Regions from separate parts of the Homo sapiens genome. Here region 2 is linked to region 1. Evidence: promoter capture Hi-C in 16 types of primary human blood cells and fetal thymus (Javierre and others, 2016). All regions are on one chromosome and are shown on one strand. Each heading gives the region's core, a stretch centred on a gene start or on the middle of the fragment in contact. The rest is flanking DNA. Distances are from core to core; before and after follow the strand shown.

Region 1 (4,369 bases), core at 155-2,654:
CCCTTTATAATTAAAGCCAATAATGAATGGGCATTAAAGTTATCCAATCTATACACTGCATTAGTTTTTAATCTGCGGTTGGGCTGTAGCGTTTACTTCTTGATCTTTTCTATCTCTAATCTGGTTATAACTGCCTGTCATTTTTACTTTTCCTGGGAGGGGCAGAGTCTCTCTCTCTCTTCTCTTTTCCTCTGAGGTGTGCGTCGTGTTTATTTTTGCCTGAGCTGATGGATAATTTCCGAGATTTAATCCCTTTCTCTGGTTTCCTGACATTTCCACTTAGAGTTACTCTTGTGTTTATGGCCAGAATGAAAGGCATGTTTACTAGTGTTTTGAAGTTTCAAAAGTGGGTCTGGCGTTCTTGCTGACTGCTGCGGGTACTGCTGGACAAGGCCGTGCTGAGAAGGCCAGCGCGCCCGGCGGCAAGGAGCGACCTGCCCGGGTCTGGGGCCCCCAGCCGCCCCCCGCGGCGAGTGGGAGGCAGCAGGAGGCGGGCTGGATTCCGCCCTCGGGGAGGGCCGGGGGTCCTGGGACCAGAGCCAGGCCTCCTGCCCTCGACGTCCTGCCGGTTGTGAGCCAGAGCCTCGGTACCCCCACCCCCTGCAACGGCCTGCTTCGTGGGATCTGAAGCTGGGCCGCCCCCTGGGCAGGGCAGGGATCGGTGAGGCAAGGAGCTGAGGAGCGCTGGCAGGTAAGGGGGAAGTCTGGAGCCGGGTTGGAGGTGAGCGGGCGTTGAGGGGTGGGACAGAGGGAGTGGAGACGGGGCTGGGGGCGAGCCAGTGAACTGGGGGTGGCACAGAGGAGGTGGGAGCAGAGATGGGGGTGATCCGGAAGCCTGGGGTGGGGGGTGAGTGGGTTCGGAGCTGAGGGTGAGCCAGTGAGCTGAGGGTGGCACAGAGGGCGTGGGGGCGGAACTGGGGGTGAGCCGGGAAGCTGGGGGTTGGCACAGAGGAGGTGGGGACAGAGATGCGGGTGAGCCGGGAAGCTGGGGTTCGGGGTGGCGCGGGTGAGAGGGTTCGGAGCTAGGGGTGAGCCGGGAAGCTGGGAGGTGGTTCAGAGGAGGTGGGGACAGAGATGGGGGTGAACCGGGAAGCTGCGGGTCGCGGGGGGCTTAGTAGGTTCGGAGCTAGGGAGTGGCACAGAAGGGTTCGTGACGGGGCTGGAGGTGAGTCGGGGGGTTAGAGGGTAGTCACGCGGAGTTGGAGATGAATTAGGGCGCTGGAGGGGCGCGAGGGAGGAGGAGACCCGGGTGGAGGCGAGCCCGGCTGCTGGACGCGGACGCCACCCGGACCCGGGGCCCGCGCAGGGGCCTCGAGGAGAGGGGGCGGGGCCGGGGGGGCGTGGCGCGGGAGGGGAAGTGGGCGGGGCACCGCCGGGAAGGGGGCGGGCCGGGGGAAAGCCTTGGTTCGCTGCAGCGGGGCAGGCGCGTGGCCGGGCCGCGGCGCGATGAGTGGGGCCCGGGCGGCGCCCGGGGCCGCGGGCAACGGCGCGGTCCGGGGGCTGCGGGTGGACGGGCTGCCCCCGCTGCCAAAGAGCTTGAGCGGGCTGCTGCACTCGGCGTCGGGCGGCGGCGCGTCTGGGGGCTGGCGGCACCTGGAGCGGCTGTACGCGCAGAAGTCGCGCATCCAGGACGAGCTGAGCCGCGGGGGCCCGGGCGGCGGCGGGGCCCGGGCGGCAGCGCTGCCCGCCAAGCCTCCCAACCTGGACGCCGCTCTGGCGCTGCTCCGCAAAGAGATGGTGAGTGGGGCTCCGCGAGCTGGGGCTCTTCCCGGCCGGGCTCGCCGTCCCGGGAAAGTTCGCGGGGACCGCGCTCTGTCCGGAAGTCCCCGCGCCCACCCGCCCTTTCGGGCTCCTCCGCCCCAGGCGCCGGCGCCGTCCTCCCAACGACCCCCATTTTTCTCGCGTGCTCCGTGCCCACGATTGGAACCCCCGCGGGAGAGCCCCGCGCGCAGAGGGCGGCTTTCTTATGCCCGGCGCCCTCAGTCCGGCCCCGCTGGCTCGGAAACCTGGGCGCCCGGAAGCGCTGTGCGGGGTTCGTGCCTGGCCTGGGGGCGGGGGCGGCCTTGTCACCTCTCCCCGAGTGAAACAGACCTTCCCGGTGGGGGAAAGGCTTTCACAGCGGCCCAACGGATTAACGCGATTGCGTTTTCCTACCACGAAGAGGACAACTTTTGTCCGCCGCCAGTGTAGACAGCAGATTGGAACAGCCCGGCCCCCTTTCCGGCGCCCCAGGCCGCGCGTCCGTGATCCGATTACCGCGGGATGGCCCCGGCGCACAGATGGCTGCGAAAGCAGACGCGCACCCCGGGCGAGGGAGGCGGCCGGGTCCCTCAGCCCCGCGAAGCTGATTGCCCAAACCCTCTTGAGAAAGGTGGGAGGTGGCTGTCCTCCCGGTCTGGGTGCTGTCCATGTGAGTTCTTCGCCTTGTGTCTAAGCTCCATACCATGGGCTCAGTGTTTCTCTGTGCTTGGGAAGTACATTAGCTGTTTGTGGACCAGAACACACATGATTTAGGGTGACGCTAAAAGTAGGACAAGGGCAGGGATTTAGGCAACAGCGAGTCTTTCCCCAGCTTTCTCGGCCAGGCGTAGGCCAGGCAAGAAGAAATCAAAAACTTTTCCTCTTTTCTACCATCTTACTGGCCCCCATCACCTCCTCCCAATCCCCTCGTTTTAAAAGCCTCCCTTTCCATTCACCTCGTCCAGGTTGTCTCCTTTCCCTATAGGTAAATTGTTAAGAAATCTAACATTAGGAAAGCTGCCTTTTCCCAAAACTAAATTTGCCAAAAAATAAATTGTTATAGGAATCTTTTAAATATGTATCTAGTGCATTTAAGATATTGTTTAGAAAAATTCAGGGTATGCATACTTTTTTTTCAGGAGCATTATCTGTTCTGAAAACTAAGACTTAATTGAATTCAGAAAGCAGCCTTAACACTTTTAATCAAAGAGATATTGTCTTCCTACTCTGTAGCTGGCATTGAAGTGATTTCCAATTCTCACTGAAAAGATTTTCTAAGCTTCTTACAGAACCACTTAAATTCCAAGCCAACCGTTTTTAATTTATTAAAAAACATTCATTGACATAAGCATCACACAGCTGGTGAACTGCATTTTAATTAGATAAATCTACACGTAGTGTGTTTACAGTCTGAACTTGGACATAGCAGAACCACGGGGGTGAAGTAGGAAGATCATCTTTGATTATTTAAATTCCATACTTGAGCAAGAGATAGAAAAACCTCGGGGCCGCTCCTGTTGTGAAGCTGTGGTTTATAAACATGCTCTGGAGTCTTGCTATGGTGGCTTGGGAGTCAACGTGCCATTCCCAGAAGTATTTTTCCAGGTCCCTCCTGGTGTGACTGAAGCACAACCACATCCGTATAATTACGCCTTGGACCAGAGCTCTCTGTAAGCCTATTTGAAGCACAAGAAAAATAAACAGCCATCTTTGGTCTGCCTGGTATTTAGCTGAGATAAAGATAAGATATGGCTGCAGGTTTTGACAAGTTCCTTTCAAGAAATGTCACAAGGCCTTTAAAGTTGCCCAGAGAATCTTTCGGCTTTTTAATTGATTTACTGACTTGGGGCCATGGGGTCTGAGTGGACAACTCAAGCTGAGACTCCCTCTGGGGAGGCCTTGCAAAACAAGAACTGGGAGTTCATTCCTGAGATATCTGCAAAATAGTTTGTGTTGATCTGTTTAAATTGAAGGCCTGACGTCAAATCTGTGGCAGGGGACATAACTAGATGTCATGGTAGAATGTGATAAATGCCTTAAAGAAATTTTTTTTTTTAAAGCAAGCATAGAAAGAGGGGCAACTTCTAATAGGGACAGGGAGCAGGGTGGTGTGGAAGACCTCAGAAGGCGACAGAATTTCGACAAGGGAAAGAGGCACCAGGAAGGTAGCTGCGGAGCTGGAACTGGGAGTGCGCCAGTTTGAAATGTGAGCAAGAAGGGCCTGGGCAGGTGGACCGAGTGGACTCTGAGAAGCCTGAGTAGCAAGGATGGGCATTCAGCAGGAGAATGGTATTATCCCAGTTGGACTTTGAAGAAATGAATTCTACAGCAGGGTGCAGAAGGGAGAGCTGGACTTTGGAGGCTCAACAGGAAGATGAGAGGTGTTCATGGGAGAGGTGATGGAGTCCCCAGCAGGGTAGGGGGCTTGCTAATGTGAAACAAGACTCATGTGGGAGACACTTTTCTGAAGCCGAAGCTGGAGGAATTACTGAGTCAAGGAAGATGATGAAAAGGGGATCAAAGATAACTTAAGCTTTTTCATGGAAAATGTAGCCAAGCAAAAAATTAAAAATTACAGTGCCAGCACCTAGAAATAATCACTTTTAGTATTTTGGGATATCTTCTGTTA
Region 2 (4,202 bases), core at 1,223-3,722, 300 kb before region 1:
TAATTTGACAATCCAAAATCTGAAATGCTCCAAAATCTAAAACTTTTTGAGCACTTACAAGATGATTAAAGGTTAAGTTCTAAGGAAATGCTCACTAAAGCCATTTCAGATTTGGGACTTTTGGATTAGGGAAGCTCAACCAGTAAGTATAATGCAAATATTCCAAAGTAAAAAAAAAAAAAATCTGAAACACTTCTGGTCCCACTTTGGATAATGAGTACTCAACCTTATAGCCACAATAGTTTTCTGCTTTTAAGTGTTTGGATGATTACTTTTCCTCATCCTTTTAAACTTAAAATAAGTGTGTCTTTACTGTAAGCATGTCTCTTTTAATCTAGCATGCCATTCCATGTATTTAATGGAGTGTTTAGTCCACTTACATTTAACTGATATTTTGTTTACACCTACCTTTCTCTTTATCATCTGAGCTCTGTTCTTTTTCATTAATCAAGTATTTCTACTGTACCACTTTACATTTAGTAGCTACTTTTTAAACAAACTGTGGTAAAAAAAATTAACAAAATTCCCCAACTTACCCATTTTTATGTGTACAGTTCAGTGTTGAGTATATTCACACTGTTATGTAATCCATTGCCTTTTATTATCCTTAAAAACAGCATCTCTCATCTCCAAGCATGTTTTAACATGCTTCCCACCCCATGCTCAGAAACTACCACTGTGCTCTTTTGTACAGATAATTCTTTCTTTTTTTTTTTGAGACAGAGTTTCGCTCTTGTTGCCCAGGCTGGAATGCAATGGTACGGTCTCGGCTCACTGCAACCTCCGCCTCCCGGGTTCAAGAGATCCTCCTGCCTCAGCTCCCACTGCTCCATTCTGCTAGCAGAAGTAAGTACCAGCTCTAAATGTGAAGCGTGCCCTCACACTGGTTTGTGCTGCCAGCTCAGCTAGGTGTCCTGAGAGCACAGCAGTGTTGCAGCCCAACTGAGGAGAATCAAAATTTGTGTTTCTCAACAGGAACATGTGGATCCTGTTTTCTCTGTTTCTAAATAAGTAACTTAAGCCAGTTACTTAACCTCTCTGAACCTTAATTTCTTTACTCATAAAAATGAAAACAGCAACACATGAACATAAACAGGGCTGTTGTAAAATCAAAACAGATAATATACCTAGAAGGCTTTTATTTTTTTGAGACAGAGTCTTGCTCTGTCACCCAGGCTGGAGTGCAGTGGCGCGATCTCGGCTCATTGCAAGCTCCGCCTCCTCAGTTCATGCCATTCTCCTGCCTCAGCCTCCCGAGTAGCTGGGACTACAGGCGCCGGCCACCACGCCCGGCTAATTTTCTGTATTTTTTTTTTTGTAGAGACGGGGTTTCACCGTGTTGGCTAGGATGTTTTTGATCTTCTGACCTCGTGATCCGCCCGCCTCGGCCTCCCAAAGTGTCGGGATTACAGGCGTGAGCCAGCGTGCCCGGCCCCTAGAAGCCTTTTTTTTGTTTTTTTTTTTTTTACTATGAAGCACTATAAAAAACATAAGGTGTTCATTATTGTTTGCCCCATAATTCAAGCTTTCACTGAGGGCAAAGTGACTTTTTTTAACGATACATACAGGCGAATTCACAGCAGTCTAAATCATTGACAAGTATTTGTAAATTACTGCGCTAGGAAGCAAGTTTACACGAAAAATACCTCTACAAGATCCTTTCTTGGCCTCAACTTCAAAAGGGGTTCGCTGAGACGGATGGAACACATTCCACCCTTCCCTTCATAGCTGCATATCCCAGCACACCTAGAAAACAATCACCATAAAAATGTGTTACATTGGCCAAATATGCCCAAGTCCTTACACATTCTTGGGCAGTTCACACTAACTCAGTTGGCAGATGGCTTTCATGAAAGTATACCCCCCTTGGTTAGCAGATACTTGCATTTCACCTAATTAATTAGTTACAACCCCCGCGGGCGCCTCCCGCGATGGCTCCGATCCCCGCCGGGCAAGGAAGGAAAGCAGCGTGCTCTCACCACCCTGCTTGAGAAGGTGGAAGGCTGCAGGCACCTGCTAGAGACGCCAGGACCGTACCTGGTGTACAACGGGGACCTAGTGGAATACGATGCGGACCACATGGCCCAACTGCAGCTCCCCTTGCCCTAGCTAGGCTGCAACAGCTCAAAGGCAATCCTATTCTGCTACTCCCAGTCTCCTTCCGACAAGTTACAGTTCGGTGTTATTAACAAGCAGATATCTCCAGTAGCATATCTCCAAAATCATAACAGACGCCTGTATAAAGGAAATTGGTACTTTAAACACAATTTAATATCATATCTTAATTTGTTTGACAGTAGGTTGTTTTCTATCAACTCAAAAACAAGCATGCTGGGATACAACTGTATCTTAAACTTAACCCTGTTCACGTGCAGGAGTAGATTATTATTTCAAATAGGGATTTCTGAAATTTAGCGTGTAGAAAAAGAATCGTTTTAAAAGCATCACTGAAGATCCCCAATGCAACACACGAGCTAACTAAAGTGGGTTTCCTAACGGGAATAGAGGAGGAGAACACACATCCTTTGGCAGTTACTCTGCGTCCTCAGCACTTTCTTAGGTGCAGATTTGGTTGCTTCTCCCTTCTGGGTCCTACAGCACTATCATAAGGCAAATCAGGAACTTGTTATTTTCAAGTGAAGTGAGATTCAAATAAAAATCTCTTTTTTGTTACGGCCCTGAGTCCAACCGTGGCGGTGTGGTCTACACAGCTTTCTTATTGTTCGAGTGGGAGAAAAGGTAAGGAAGACAGAAACACGCCGAGGCAGGAATTGCCAGGTCCAAAACCAGACTCCCCTCATTTAACGCCCCCTGGGACCGTCGGACTAGAGAAAGGAGAGAAAACCAGGGCCGGGGGCTGCAGGAAAGCTGCCAGTCCCGCCTCTTTCCCCAGCGGGGCTCGGAACTCACAGGGTCATTCGCACGCTCCACTTCACCTCGACGGCCTCCAGCTGGCCCCAGAAGAATTGGTCGTTAAACTGAACAAACAGTGCCTGCAAGTCCGGTGTGGGGTCCACCAACTCCCACGACGCGTCCACTAGCGACAGGGACTCCTGGGCATGATCGCGCTCCGCCTCCTGCAAGTTCCACTCCTCCTGAAGCCGCAGTGCCAACATCAAGTCATCATCCATCGTTGCCAGGATCACAGGCGGGGTCCGCCGGCGTCAGGCTGGCTCCCCAGTTACGCCGCGACCCCAAGCCGCCTAGCCGAGGACCAGGACTAGCTCCTAGGAGATGCCGGCTCTCGAGACGGCCCGTCAATCCCGCGAGAGTTCGCGGAAACGCGCTTGAGAACGAGAACGGAGCTTACCCCAAACGCCGAAGCCAAGATTCTAGGGCTTTAAAAAAAGCAGTCAGCATGACACCTCCTAGTGGGCGCAGAACCTGGGCTCACAGGGCTCGGGCCCTACGAAGCTTTCAGGAAGCTAGTTTCAGCCTTTACTCTTTGCCGGTTATTTCAAACCTCAACGTCACGCTCGGTTCATGCGCAGTACCGAAATTTCTCTCGGCCTCTCCCTCCCCTCACTTCCGCAATAGCTCATCTTGCGCATGCGCTTTAACCGATGGCATTGCTGCGCAGGCGCAATGTCTGCGCTCGGCCCACTTGCGCAGGCGCAGTGTCTGACGCTCAGACCCGGCGCAGGCGTACTCGTCTCGTTCCCATTCCTGCTTCCTCAGCCCAGGAGCTCGGTTGGCCTTGGGTGGGTCTAGACAGCCGCGGCGGCTGCGGCGCCGATAGTGACAGTGAGTGCGTGAGACCCGGAGAGAAATGGCGATGGCGATGTCGGACAGTGGGGCGAGCCGCCTGCGTCGGCAGCTGGAGTCAGGGGGTTTTGAGGCGCGGCTGTACGTGAAGCAGCTCTCGCAGCAGTCGGATGGGGACCGGGACCTCCAGGAGCACCGGCAGCGCATCCAGGCGCTGGCGGAGGAGACGGCGCAGAACCTGAAGCGCAACGTCTACCAGAACTACCGGCAGTTCATAGAGACGGCCCGCGAGATCTCCTACCTGGAGAGCGAGATGTACCAGCTCAGCCATTTGCTGACCGAGCAGAAAAGCAGCCTGGAGAGCATCCCGCTTACGTTGCTGCCTGCCGCTGCTGCCGCCGGAGCCGCCGCCGCCTCTGGAGGGGAGGAGGGAGTCGGTGGGGCGGGGGGCCGAGACCACCTCCGAGGCCAGGCCGGCTTTTTCTCCACCCCCGGGG

What was found. Contacts are between HindIII fragments. The CHiCAGO score rates a contact against its expected background, and 5 or more counts as called.
Region 2: a fragment that was not itself captured here is called in contact with the fragment with the promoter of FAM89A in region 1 in 1 of 17 cell types (activated CD4 T cells); the score reaches 7.1 in activated CD4 T cells.

What each region holds. Positions count from the first base shown.
Region 1 is chr1:231,037,289-231,041,657 of GRCh38, reverse strand. It overlaps FAM89A (family with sequence similarity 89 member A), which reads left to right and starts at 1,404. Exons shown (of 2, transcript NM_198552.3): 1 at 1,404-1,737. The coding sequence starts at 1,447. RefSeq lists silencers at 1,243-1,352, 1,613-1,662, 2,303-2,382 and an enhancer at 2,045-2,726. The HindIII fragment of the contact is 3,223 bases long and covers 1-3,021 here.
Region 2 is chr1:231,337,313-231,341,514 of GRCh38, reverse strand. EXOC8 (exocyst complex component 8) reads left to right here and starts at 3,663. Exons shown (of 1, transcript NM_175876.5): 1 at 3,663-4,202. The coding sequence starts at 3,770. It overlaps SPRTN (SprT-like N-terminal domain), which reads right to left and starts at 3,222. Exons shown (of 5, transcript NM_032018.7): 1 at 2,911-3,222; 2 at 1,647-1,746. The coding sequence starts at 3,131. RefSeq lists silencers at 1,938-1,987, 4,059-4,202 and enhancers at 1,736-2,610, 3,009-3,208, 2,611-3,485, 3,789-3,848, 3,486-4,202 and 1 more. The HindIII fragment of the contact is 1,889 bases long and covers 1,528-3,416 here.